Linked DNA regions of Homo sapiens: all the other regions are linked to region 5. The links are contacts of gene promoters, found by promoter capture Hi-C in blood cells and fetal thymus (Javierre and others, 2016). All regions are on one chromosome and are shown on one strand. The core of a region is centred on a gene start or on the middle of the fragment in contact, and the rest is flanking DNA. Distances in the headings are between cores, read along the strand shown.

The links. Contacts are between HindIII fragments. The CHiCAGO score rates a contact against its expected background, and 5 or more counts as called.
Region 1: a fragment that was not itself captured here is called in contact with the fragment with the promoter of E2F3 in region 5 in 1 of 17 cell types (fetal thymus); the score reaches 6.1 in fetal thymus.
Region 2: a fragment that was not itself captured here is called in contact with the fragment with the promoter of E2F3 in region 5 in 1 of 17 cell types (fetal thymus); the score reaches 8.3 in fetal thymus.
Region 3: a contact is called between a fragment that was not itself captured here and the fragment with the promoter of E2F3 in region 5, in 1 of 17 cell types (monocytes). The highest score is 7.4, in monocytes.
Region 4: a fragment that was not itself captured here is called in contact with the fragment with the promoter of E2F3 in region 5 in 1 of 17 cell types (monocytes); the score reaches 11.9 in monocytes.

What each region holds. Positions count from the first base shown.
Region 1 is chr6:21,832,442-21,835,141 of GRCh38, reverse strand. All of the region lies in intron 4 of CASC15 (cancer susceptibility 15), which reads right to left. Among named protein-coding and RNA genes, the nearest start is that of CASC15, 170 kb to the right of the region's middle. The HindIII fragment of the contact is 3,336 bases long and covers 1-2,700 here.
Region 2 is chr6:22,040,326-22,043,025 of GRCh38, reverse strand. The region is part of intron 7 of CASC15 (cancer susceptibility 15); the gene reads right to left. Among named protein-coding and RNA genes, the nearest start is that of NBAT1, 110 kb to the left of the region's middle. The HindIII fragment of the contact is 4,011 bases long and covers 1-2,700 here.
Region 3 is chr6:22,021,481-22,024,180 of GRCh38, reverse strand. The region is part of intron 7 of CASC15 (cancer susceptibility 15); the gene reads right to left. Among named protein-coding and RNA genes, the nearest start is that of NBAT1, 120 kb to the left of the region's middle. The HindIII fragment of the contact is 7,165 bases long and covers 1-2,700 here.
Region 4 is chr6:22,365,287-22,367,986 of GRCh38, reverse strand. It overlaps a transcript of LOC105374971 not described here. Among named protein-coding and RNA genes, the nearest start is that of PRL, 70 kb to the right of the region's middle. The HindIII fragment of the contact is 1,013 bases long and covers 812-1,824 here.
Region 5 is chr6:20,400,551-20,403,250 of GRCh38, reverse strand. It overlaps E2F3 (E2F transcription factor 3), which reads right to left and starts at 1,372. Exons shown (of 7, transcript NM_001949.5): 1 at 626-1,372. The coding sequence starts at 1,018. LOC124901482 reads left to right here and starts at 479. Exons shown (of 3, transcript XM_047419652.1): 1 at 479-826; 2 at 871-982; 3 at 1,089-2,510. The coding sequence starts at 479. The coding sequence ends at 1,696. RefSeq lists silencers at 1-37, 238-707, 1,558-1,797 and an enhancer at 935-1,459. The HindIII fragment of the contact is 2,252 bases long and covers 303-2,554 here.

The DNA of each region.
Region 1 (2,700 bases), core at 196-2,695, 1.4 Mb before region 5:
CCTAATGCTTATCTCTAGGAGATGGTTCTCCTAAACTAAATCATATCTGTATATACCCAATCTCCACTGACAGGTATGACAGGAAACTAAATGTCAGCATGCCCAAACCAGAAACCACAGACTAGCCACCCACCCCAATGAAATCCCCAACTTGATAAATGATAACACCATTTACCTAGCAAAAACCATCCTTTGTTATCTTTAATCTAGCTTTATTCTCTTTTATTCTGCCAATGCTATCACTACATTGTATCATTTTACTTCATAATAACTTCTCTCACCCATGTCTACCACATACCATGCTGTATTTCATCAAAATTTTTCAACTAGAACATTACAATAGAAACTTCACCGGTTCTCAACTGTGAGTCTGAAGCTCCTTCCATCTACCATTGAAGTCCTATTAGAGTTTTGTTTTTTGGGGTTTGTTTGTTTTTTTGATACAGGGTCTCACTATGTCACCCAGGCTGGAGTGCAGTGGATCGATCTGGGCTCACTGCAATTTCTGCCTCCCAGGTTCCAGCAATTCTCCTGCCTCAGCCTCCCAAGTAGCTGGGATTATGGATGCGCACCACCACACCTGGCTAATCTTTGTATTTTTAGTAGAGACGGGGTTTCACTATGTTGGCCAGGCTGGTCTTGAACTCCTGACCTCAGGTGATCTACCTGTCCTGGCCTCCCAAAGTGCTGGGATTACAAGTGTAAGTCACCATGCCCAACCCAGAGTATTATTTTTAACCTTAAAACCTGTTTATATCCCTCCATTTCTCTAAATTCTTAAATTTAGAGAAATTCTATAGCAGTGCATTCTCAAATGTTAGAGGGATAAGAGTCCTGTGTAGGTTGGGGGCCAGGCATGGTGGCTCACACCTGTAATCCCAGCACTTTGGGAGGCCGAGGTGGGCAGATCACCTGAGGTCATGAGTTTGAGACCTGCCTAGCCAACATGGTGAAACCCCCTCTCTACTAAAAATACAAAAAATTAGCTGGGCGTAGTGGCGGGCACCTGTAATCCCAGCTACTTGGGAGGCTGAGGCAGGAGAATTGCTTGACCCGGGAGGCAGAGGCTGTAGTGAGCCGAGATCATGCAACTGCACTCCAGCCTGGGCAACAGAGCAAGACTCCGTCTCAAAAAAAAAAAAAAGAAAGAAAGAAAAAAAAAAAAGTCACGTGTAGGTTGGGGAGAGGGTGACATAAGATAGATTCAAGTCTCCCACAAGGAATTCAGTAGTTCTAAAATGGGCCCAGGACCCTGAAGTTTGAAAATGCTCACCAGGTGACTCTTATGTAGATAGTTTGAAGGGTATACTTCAAGGACTATAAAATACATAGCTCCTTTTAATAGTATACAAGGTACTTCGAGATCTAGGCAGGGGTTTTCAAGCCTATCAATCCCAAGTCCCTTTTTATAACACACTTTTCTGTCTTGAAATAAAAATCGTAAGTAGTATATAACCTACCTGCGTAATAATTTTTAAAAGTAAATCAGTATAATATCTTAAGTATAGAAGAAAAAGGGGGGAATGGAATTGATAATAACATAACTTTTGTTTTTACATATTGGCACAAAACTGCCAACAGAAGACACCATGAAGTAGCTGTGTGCATGGAATCACCGTGAATACAGCTCCAAACACAGATCCACACAGTATGTTTTATCGATCATTCAAATTTCCAAAGTGGTGTGGCCATGGCTGACACAATTTCTCTAAATTGTGAACAGTATTTAGTAAAGGTCCACATAAAACGATGCGCAATCTTTCCCCAACTGACAAAGTAGTTTTATTCCTGGAAAATTCAGTGTGCATTAAGCCTGGCAACAAATACTTTGTACCTATATGTAAAACAAAGTTAGGTTCTAGCTCAAACTCTTATAGACAGGTTCTGTAATTAACTTTACATAAATATCTGTTGAGACGCTTGAGAATAATCGTGTTAAACACAGGACAATTCTTCATGTGCAGAACTATCTTGTACATTGCATCGTACCTGCTGCCTGGGCTTTGCTCATTCAATGCCAGAAGCGCCTTCCAATCACTGTGACCAAAGAAAGTATTGCATGAGTTTCCAAAACACCCCCAGAGCGTACAACTTCATCTCCCAAACAATCTAGCATCCAGCCCAATCATATGAACAATTTTAGTTTTTTGTGTGTGTGTGTTTTTTTAAGACAGAGTCTCGCTCTGTCGCCCAGGCAGTGGTGCAATCTCGGCTCACTGCAACCTCCACCTCCTGGGTCCAAGTGATTCTCCTGCCTCAGCCTACTGAGTAGCTGGGATTACAGATGCGTGCCACCACGTCCGGCTAATTTTTGTATTTTTAGTAGAGACAGGGTTTCACTATGTTGGCCAGGCTGGTCTCGAACTCCTGACCTCAGGTGATCCGCCCGCCTCGGCCTCAAAAATTGCTGGGACTACAAGCGTGAGCCACCATGCCTGGCCTCCATTTTCACTTTAAAACCTTGCAAATGTGTATTGACTCTATAGTTCTTAGCCAAAATGGCATTTCCTGAATCCAGTTTCCCTTGACCCTCCCAGGCCACACACTGGGCTCCTTCCTCTTGCTCTCATGGTCTTGTATACACAGCACCATAGCAATACCATCACTGCCATCCCATGACTTGGCATGATGACACTCTTCCCTCCTTTGGGTCTTAGCATATGGCAAACAGTAGATAGGTTTAACAAGTATTTTTGAATA
Region 2 (2,700 bases), core at 83-2,582, 1.6 Mb before region 5:
AAATCCCAGCTCCCAAACCTGTGGCCAGAGCAGAGCCTGTAATTAAATGTGAACTTGCCAGTGGCTCTCTTAATACATGAGGCAAAAAGTTAATGTCTGATGGACTGGGGCCCATGCCAAACTCCAGCTCAGTTGCCTCCCCACAGGGGACTAGTTCAAAGAAATGAGATCTAGTGGTAGTGAACAAGCCAAGTAAGTTGCAGGGAGGCCCCAGCTCACAGGTCTGCCTTTGGACCCCCTCCTCTGGGCTTCCCTAATACTCTATGCACAGCTCCTCCCCAGGTACTCACAGCCATCATTCATCCTTTATTGATCTGTCCTGTCCATGAAGCAAAGTGGAGGGCTGCCCTTTTCTGGACTTTACGTGCTTGGTACCAAATACACTAGGTCTGCACTGTCTAATACAGTGGTCACTAGACACATGTGGCTCTTGAGTCCTTGAAATGTGATCAGTCCAAACTGAGATGTATCTCAAGTTTAAAACAGTGGATTTCACAGACTTACTATGAAAAATACAGTTAAATAGCTCATTAATTTTTATATTAATTAAATATTGAAATAATATTTTGGATATATTAGGTTAAATAAAGTGTGTTATTAAAATCAATTTCACCTAATTCTCTTCATTTTTTTTTTTTTAGCATGGCTACACATGTGGCTTATATTATATGTCTATTAGACAGTATTGTTCTGGGTATTCCATGAGGGAGGGAGGGAGGAAGGAAGGAAGCAAGGAAGGAAGAAGGAGGGGGAAGGAGAGGGAGGGAGGAAGGGAGGGGGGCGGGCAGGTGGGCAGGCAAGAGAGAGAAAGAGAGTGGGGAGAGGGATGAAGAAGGAACACCAAGAGAAAGAGAAAGTTGACTGGAGATCAGTATAAATGCTTTTAAATCAACATATAACAGAAATGGTTTTAAAGAAGTGAGGTTATTTTCAGAAATAATTTTTGTATCTGGAACTACATTTCATTCTGAATCATTTGCTGTGAGAAAATGCTTACTAATCATCCAGGACTCCTAAAGGATGAGAGAGCAACAGACTGTCGGCCAGGCCACATCACAGAGGCCAAACTGAATCTTCAGTCCTGTGGTAAAGACTCGGGAGAGCAGAAGGGAATTGTCACTTGGAGATAAAACAATGAATCTGGAAACCCCACAGTTTTCCAAACTTCTCTTTATCCTAAATGTAACAATTCCCTCAGTTCAGCTGATTAAATATATTCTTTAAAACTGTTTTTAAAAATGCACAACCTTCCACCAAACATTTAAAGAAGTAAGCCAGGCGCAGTGGCTCACACCTATAATCCCAGCACTTTGGGAAACTGAGGCAGGTGGATCACCTGAGGTCAGGTGTTTAAGACCAGCCTGGCCAACATGATGAAACCCTGTCTCTACTAAAAAAAATACAAAAAATAGCTGGGCATGGTGGCACATGCCTGTAATCCCAGCTACTTGGGAGGCTGAGGCAGGAGAATCACTTGAACCTGAGAGGCAGAGGTTGCAATGAGCTGAGATTGCACCATTGCACTCCAGCCTGGACAACAAGAGTGAAACTCCGTCTCAAAAAATAAAAATAAAAATAAAGAATTAACACCAATCTTTCTCAAACTCTTTCAAAATACTGAAGAAGATAAAACACGTTTTGTTTGTTTGTTTGTTTTTTGAGACTGAGTCTTACTCTGTTGCCCAGGCTGGAGTACAGTGGCGCAATCTTGGCTCACTGCAGCTTCTGCCTCCTGGGTTCGAGTGATTCTCCTGCCTCAGTAGCTGGGACTACCAATACACACCACCATGCCCAGCTGATTTTTGTATTTTTAGTAGAGATGGGGTTTCACCATGTTGGCCAGGCTGGTCTTGAACTCCTGACCTCAGGTGATCCATCCACCTCAGCCTTCCAAAGTCCTGGGATTACAGGCATGAGCCACTGCACCCGGCTGATAAAACACTTTTTAATTCATTCTATGAGGCCAGTATTACCGTGATAGCAAAGCCAGAAAAAGAAAGAAAACTATAGACCAATATCCCTTATAAACACTGATGTAAAAACTGTCAACAAAATACTAGCCATCTGAGTTCAGCAGAATATTAAAAGAATTATACACCACAACCAAATGAGATTTAGTCCCGAAATGCAAGGATGGTTTAACATAGAAAAATTGATATAATATATAATGTTAACAGAATGAAAGACTAAAACCACATGATCATCTCAATGTGGTTGATTCAGAAAAAGGACTTGACAAAATTCAATACCCTTTCATGTTGAAAATACTCAACATACTAGAAAGAAATCTACCTCAATATAATAAAATCCATATATGAAAAAACCCATAGCCAACATCATAATGGTGAAAGACTAAAAGCATTTACTCTAAGATCAGAAATAAGGCAAGGATGCCTGCTTTCACCACTTCTATTCAACATGGTACAAGAAGCTCTAGCCAGAGCAATTAGGCAAGAAAACGAAATAAAGGCCATCCAAATTGGAAAGGAAAAATAAAACTATTTCTGTTTGCAAATGATCTGATCTTATCTCCGAAAGATCCCCCGATCCCGCACTCAAAAAATTGTTAGAGATAATAAATTCAATAAAGTAGCAGGATACAAAGCCAACATATAAAAGTAAGTTGCATTTATATATACTAACAATGAACAATCTGAAAAGGAAATTACAAAAATGGTTCCATTTATAATAGCATCAAAA
Region 3 (2,700 bases), core at 81-2,580, 1.6 Mb before region 5:
ATACCGAAAAAGAAAATCCTCAAAGCCCTTTAAGTTTCTCATACATATAAGACATGCAATGTAATAAAACACCCGTACTCTCTACAAAAGCCCTGAGAGACTCACGGCTATAGAAATAGGAAACAGACGCCAGCTGTACAGCATGGATGCATTCACAATCAGGGAGGCTGGCTGCAGATTCCAGTGACAAGGCAGGGAAAATAACTCTGACATTCACATGTACTCAGACAAAACACCCAGGAAAAGGGAGGAAAATAGTATTGTTTCAGTAGAGCACCAGTAAGTGAAAAGAAGCAATCTTCACAGATAACATTCCTAATTCCTGCTTAAAAGTCTGGATCTACAAGAAGACAATCAAGTGACAACATTACACTGGTAGCCTTTAAGGTTTAGAAAAATCTCATATTAAAGTAAATTGGGCCAAGTAGAGTGGCTCACGCCTGTAATCCTAGCACTTTGGGAAGCTGAGATGGGAGGACCACTTGAGCCCAGTTTGAGACCAGCCTGGGCAACACAAGGATACCCCTATCTCTACAAACAATAACAATTTTAAAAATTAGCCAAGCATGGTGGCACACACCTGTGGTGCCAGCTACTCGGGAGGCTGAGGTGGGAGGATTGCTTGAGTGCAGGAGGTCAAGTCTGCAGTGAGCTGTGATCAAGCCACTGCACTCCAGCCTGGATGACAGAGCAAGCCTCTGTCTCAAAAATAAAATAAAATAAGTAAATTGGCTCTCTAGAGGGGTAAGGGTAATAACCCCCACACTGAACAAAATGTAAAGAAGAGAATGCATAAATTACAGTATTTTAAATTAATTTATACTGGAAACAAAAGCCATGCTTGACTGTACATAGCCATCTAAGGAAAATAATTACTCTTGGGTCCATAAGGAAATTGGGAGAAAAGTATTAAATGTTCATCTATTCTAAGATATTCTGAATTATGAAAAGTTTAAAATTCAAATTAATCAATTAATTAAACACATATTATTATTATATCAAGGATGTATTGTGAGTTCCATGTCAGGTTAAAATTAAAAAAGATGAATAATATCCTTTTCCTGGTTCTCATGAACCTCAAAGTCCAGCAAGGAGAGACAGAGACAAAATAAAGTATAACACAATGTGGGAAGGGTTTGAGTCAAGTATAAACAGAGTGCTAAGGAAGAACAGAGGGAAGATGTAATTGATTCTGTATGGAAAAGAGGAGGGGGAGGGGCTTAGGAAAGTCTCAGAGAATTTGACACTTAAACAAGACCTTGCAAAATGTACAATATTTCACCCAATATAGAGCAAGGGGAAGGGGCATTTTAGATAAATAAATGGCAGCCCACATCTCAAGGCATGTCTACATATGTCCGAGTTAAGTGTCACACAACGCAGACAGCCCGGAAGGGCCTGGATTGCAAGGTCTTTGTGAGGAAGGAGGCATCACAGGACGAGATTTTTGAAAAGAGACTTGGTATTTTCTACAACTCAATAAAAGAGAAGGAGGCAAGTGTACAGGAAGAGAAGCAGCAGGAACAGGAGGTAGCCCTGGCCCCTGGGCCTGAGACAGACCTTGGGGAAACCGACAGCATTGCTAAGGCCAGTTCTGTAGGTAGAGGTGAGGAAGACAAAGAGGCAGAGAAGCAGGAAGGCATAGTGCACTGAACCATGACTCAGAAATGGTCAAGAGTGGGACTTCCAGGAGAAGTAGCAGGCCCAACCTAGATGGACAGTGTAGTACACAGAATAATGGCCACCAATATATCAGGTCCTAATCTCTGGGACCTGTAAATGTTACCTTCTATGCAAAGACTTTGCAGATGTGATGAAATTAAAGATCTTGAGATGGGGGGATTATTTTGAATTATCTAGTTGGGCCTTAAATGTCATTACATGTATGCTTCTAAGAGGGAAGCAGAGGCAGATTTGACTACAGATGGAAGACAGGAAGGCAATGTGGCCGTGGAGGGGGCAGATATTGGAGTGATGAGGCCACAAGCCAAGGGATGTCAGCAGTTTCCAGAAGCTGGAAGAGAGAAGGAACAGATTCTCCCCCAGAGCCTCTGGCAGGAGCTCAGCCCTGTCAAAACCTAAATGTCTGTTGTTTTAAGGTGCCAAGTTTGTGGTAATTTGCTACAGCAGCCAGAGGAAATTAATACACACAGTGAACAAAGAGTCACCCCCAGCTGTTCTTAGATGCCACCATCACCAGTCTTGATAAGAATCATTCAGACCAAGGGCAGTGACTCACGCCTATAATCCCAGCACTTTGGGAGGCCAAGGTGGGAGGGTAGCTTGAGGCCAGGAGTTTGAGACCACCTTGGGCAGCAAAGCGAGACCTCATCTCAACAAAAAATAAAAATTAGCCAGGTATGGTGGTACACGCCTATAGTCCCAGCTACTTAGGAGGCTGAAGGAGGAGGACTGTTGGAGCCCAGGAGTTCCAGCCTGCAGTGAGCTATGATTTTACCACTGTGCTCCAGCCTGGGCAACAGAACAAGACCCCATCTTAAAAAAAAAAAAAAAAGAAGAAGAATTCAGATGGAAGGCACTCCAACTCTCAAGAATAAATTGAAGTCTAAGCTGCCACGTTAGAGGAAGACAAGATTATTAACCTTAGTAACTAGTCAAAATTTAGGAACAGAAACCCAGGTATAATCCTAGACTAGGTTAATACAAGGTGGCTGGAAGAACTATAAATAGAAGCCACCA
Region 4 (2,700 bases), core at 69-2,568, 2.0 Mb before region 5:
AGATGAAGAAGTGATGTGGGAAGTAATTAAGTGCTATTAGAAGCAAACGGCATCTAATTTGACCGAATGGCCAAGTGCGGTGTGGTCTTTTGATAGCATTTCCAAATACAGGAACCAAATTTGATCCTTTAAGTCCTCCTTGTCTTTAGGATGCATGTTTATTCAAAGAACAGATGGGGAGAAAAATCAGAAAAAGACTTTGTTCGACCCACATAAAACAGCATATTTGAGTGTGGGCATGAAGGGAGATGAGTTTTGGAAGGATTTTCATTTGTTTGATGTGTGAAGATAGAATTGGGAAGTGGGAAAGAGCGGACATTATTTAATCTCTCCCAGGGAGGAGCTTCAGAAGGTTCTAAGAGAAAGAAAGCTCCCTTAGTAAGCACATATTTCTGTGCTCTCATATCTTTGGTATTTTCCATTATAATAAAAGAGAGATTTCCAGGACTAAAGTTACTGGGTACTACAGACAGGAAGAAATTTTAGAAATGGTTATAAACTACCACCCACAAATTAAGCTTTTTTAGGGTTTGGAATTTTTAATTCCAAGACAATTTTTAAATAAATTGTCTTTGGATGAGGTCATGCCTGTGTGTTATTATATGTACTCCTAGTCATTAAAGACCAAAATGGAAATCCAGAGAGCACTGCACTAAAAACAAGCTTAATGCTGACAGCATTTATGACCTACATGCCTAATCCCATAGGTCTCCAGGCTCACAAGAAAACTGTTTCTCTTGAGATGCCCAAGTTGTCATTGCATGTCAGGGAAACTCAGGTATAAACAGGTACTTAAAAATAAGGGTAAGCTTTGCTGGCTACTTAAAGCAAATTGAGCTTTTGAAACTGATGAGGTGTACCCCGTTGAAATGTTGGCATCAGTCTGGAGCCCAATGCAAACAAGAAACAACAAGGGGAAAGACAATGGAGGAGGAATCAGGAGGAATCATAATAGAAAGGAATTGCCTGCTGGTTGCTAACATTTCCATATGGACACAAGCAGCAAAATTACAAAAGATCAAAGAGCAATCCAAAGAAGAAGGGAGTGTTCAGTCTCATAATTGTGCATGTGTGTGAACATACAGCCTTCTGTAAGAATAACAGCAGAAACATGTTTTTGCAAGTGAGGTCCAATGTATGCCAGCTAATGGGGGTGCCTGGCTGAACCTCAGTATGCAAAAATCTACTCTACATTTGTTAAAGATGCTACTGATTAATGGTATCTCAAATCTGTAATAACAGTTAACAGATGCACAAGGGGGAAATGTCCTCAATACAAATGCTGTAGGCTTCCAAACCTCATTGTAATTATTCCATTTGTGGTCAAGTGCTAGCAACCCATTTTACAGCTAAAGCCTAAGGCAAAATAATTTTGCCCACCATGACATTGAGGGAGAAGTTGAGGCGCAAAGGGACAACTCATTCTCCAACTCTTTACGTGTCAGCACTACATATGAAGTTTCTCTTGTGTCTGTTTTAAACTAGATACAAGAAACAATTTCACAAGAAATTGTGAAACTGTGTCTTTCACAAGAAGCAATTTCAATCTTTGCACCCAGAGAATAGCTTCTCTATGTAATTCTAATCTGATGAAATCACTGATTTTCCTGTGTTAAGAGGTTAGTGAGTTCTATTTCACAACAGATAGGCTCACTCCACATTTGGTAAACTCTGCCCCAACTGCGAAATTTTAAACAAATTTAATTCTTGGTAAATGTATTATTAACTACTATTAATACATAAGAAAATAATAACGTAATGAAAAAATGTTTAATAGTAACATAATGAACATAAAAATAATATTAGGAAATGCAGAAAAAAGCTTGGTATATCTCAAAATACATAACTGTTCAAGAGCGCATTGGCCCAAATCACCAGTTTTTTCATTCATTAATTTCTGTTATGGTTTGAATGTGTTTTCCACAGTTAATGTGTTGGAAAGTTAATCCCCAGTGCAACAGTGTTGAGAGGTAGGACCTTTAAGAGGTGATTATGTCATGAGGACTCTGGATGAATGGATTCTTATCAGAAGCTTGCTATAAAAGCTGAATTTGGCCTACTCTTGCTCTCTCTCACCATGTCATGCTTTCTGCCATTTTATGACACAGCAAGAAGGCCCTTACCAGATGCAACCCCTCATTCTTGGACTTACCAACCTCTAGAGCCAATCAATCGCTTTACTTTATAAATTACCTAGTCTTAGGTGTTCTGTTACAGCAACAGAAAATGGACTGAGACAATTTCCTTGGGAAAGTAAACAGAATGGGCTTTGAAGGAGTCTCTCACTGAATTTAGAAAACAAAATGACGAAGACACAACTTTCAACACTTCATTATATTACTAGGTTTAATGGTTGCAATTACATATGGCTTTATAGACTCAAAAGTGCTTTGCAACCTTTAATTAGTCCATCTTCCCAAGTCCACCTCCATTTTTGGATGACAGCACTGAGATATATTGGTTATGATTTGCCCTCCAGTAGCCAAGTAAGTCAGAAGCCCAGTTCAGAGTAAAACCAAGTCTCCAAAACAGAACCAATGCATGGGCACTGGGATTCTGGCTCACCTCTCATTCTACAGCATAGCTGGAATTTTGTTTAAAATGTGAAAGCATGCAAACAATGTTTTATCACCAGATATAGGGAGGTTTTGTTGTTATTAATCAACTTTTTATTGTATTTTCCCTTCGGATATAACTGCA
Region 5 (2,700 bases), core at 123-2,622:
CCGGCTTCCAGCCCCACCTCCCCCACGCCCGACTCCCCTCCACCTCCCCCAGCCCCTTTGTTGCCGGGAGTTACAGATCCTAAAATGTGTCAAGCGCAGCCCCGCCGATCCCCTGCGCTCCGAGCACGCCGCAGGGACCCCCGGCCGCCAACGAGCCTCCAAGGCCGACTGGGGGCTAGCACCCCAACAGTCCCCCGGTTTCAACCCCTCAGAGCCCCCCACACCCCAGTTCACTACTCCCTCCCCCACCCCCTTCTCCATCCGGGGCGTGACCCCTTCCTACGCCCGAGAAAGAGGAAGCTTCGAGTTGGAGGGGAAGGGAGAGTGGGGGTAGGGAAAAGTGCAGGAAAAGAAGGGGGGGCCGCGAAAAGTTTTGGAGTGTTTGATGTGGTTCGCGCCAAGGCAATCCCCGCCGCCCCGCGCGCCTGGCCGAGCCCCCCGACCCTCCTGGCGCCGGGAAGAGCACTCAGGTCTAACAATGAACCCTCGTTGGAGGGGCAGCCCCCGAGGCCCACGATGCTCGGCCCAGTGCTCTCCCCGAGCGGCCCGCAGCGCGCCCACGACCCCGCGCGGTGCGAGCCCACCTCCCGCCGGGGCTGGGGACGGTGGGGAGGGAGGGTATTACCGGAGGGCCGCCGCCGCCGCCGCTGCCGCCGCGTCCCAGCGCTGGTGGCTGCTGCAGCAGCCCGGCTCTGCTGGAGGGTCCGTGCGGCGTGGTGTAGAGGAGGCTGCCGGCGGTCTGCTCCGCGCCGGGGGCACTGGGGAGGAGGGGGCCGGCGGCTACGGCGCCGCTTTGGAGGGAGGAGGAACAGGAGGTGGTGGAAGTGTTCGTGGTGAGGATCTGGATGTACGCGCCCGGGGCGGCGGCAGCGGCGGCGGCGGCGGCGAAGCCGGGGCTGGCTAGCAGTGCCCTTTTGTCCATGGAGGCTGCAGCGGCGGCGGCGACGACAGCCGCCCCCTCCCCACCCCCGGCGGTCACCAGGTACTGCTCCAGAGCGGGCTGGATTCCCTTTCTCATCTCTCGCTCCTGCTCTTTTTAGTGTTATGGTATATTAATGTATTGTTTTCAATTTCTTTATTATTTGCAGTCGGAGTTTCCAAGTCTCTCCTCCTTCTCTCCTCCCCGCCCGGCGCTTCCGAGCCCCCTCTCTCTCTTTTCTTTTTATTTTTCCGCACCGCACAGGCCCCGGGGGCCAAAAATAATCGGGGCTCTGGAGAGAGGAGGGTCCCGGCCGCACGGATATCGGGCCCCAAGCGGGGATGGAGGCGTCGGGGGCGGCCGATGCAACGGATTGCGAGGCGGCGGCGGCAGCCCGGGTGCTGCGGCCGGCAGCTGAAAAATGGCTCCAGGAAGCTGCTGCTGACAATGAATGAAGGGATACGGTTTACGCGCCAAGGTCCTCCCGCGAAACTCGGATTTCCCGCCGGCTTTTCAAACCATATTTGCATATCCCCGCCCCTCAACCCGCCGAGGACCGTTCCCACAGCCCATTGGGCCGCTACCTCCTTACTTCAGTCCCAATCATGGAGCAGGGCCGCGACTTGCTGGTTTCCATTGGCTGCCGTGCATCATGGTTACCGGGGCGACAGGGACCCTATTTGCATAGGCCTCCTTGATTGGCTGGCAGAAGAGCAGTTTTTAGGGGGTGGGGCAAAGAATTTCCTTCTCTCCCACGGAAGACCACGCCTGGCCTAGGCTCCGCCCCTGTCCCCGCCCGCCCGCCGGGCCGGCGCTACTGACCTGGGCAGGGACTCCGCGCCCCGCAGACTCAGTGTAGATCTAGTCTAGAGCCCAAGTTTCGCTTTTGGAAATTGTCAAGGTGACTAAGGGAACACTCTTTCCTTTGACCAGTCAGTGCAATAAACGAACAGCGCAGGAGATTTTTCCAGATACGTGCCAAAGGCAAGTTGGACCATGCGGACGATGTCTGGCAGGTGCAAAAGGAGCCCTTTAAATCGTGGGCTTCTCCCTTCCTGAAATCCAACCAATGACGCGGCGAGAGCTGATCCCGAGGCCGGGGCTGATAGACAGAAGCATGTGGGCAGACAGAATCGTGGGGGCAGAAGGTTCAGCAGACGCGATTGCGGGCACCAGTTAACATTCCAGATCATTCCCGGTACCTTCATTATTAGCCTGGATAGGGGTAAAGTACAAATTAACTCTTTTGTCTTACAACGGATATTGGTTTGAATCCAGCAGACATTCCCTCTGGCCCAGAAACACCCAGGGCAGTTAATCAGGGCTAACCTAGAACTGATCTACGGGTTTCTAATCCGCCAAGCAGTAATCCGAAAAAGTACACGCTTCCCACGATGACGTCGTGCCCCCAACGAACGCAGGCACGCCCAGGCATCAGCACTTTATATCTTCAGTTTTGTAGGAAGTTCTCTGACTGGAAGCAAACACAACGACTCAAACCTATCCCAAAGTATTTTTAAAATAGTGTCTTTTTTTAAAAAGTAAACTAGAAATTGTCATCAGAAAAATATAAAATGATGTGTCAAACTGACTCCTGAATTTGTTCAAGTATTCATGGGTCTTAAAATTAAAGCTTGCTCCTGAGATTGAGCAGGAAAAGAGACCCCTGCAGGAATGTGGGGGAAGTTATGTATGTAGAGACTAGATCATAATTTATAGTTACGTGCAAAACAGCTGCAGAATTGGTGCTCATAGGTGATGAGGATTGCAACACCTTGAGC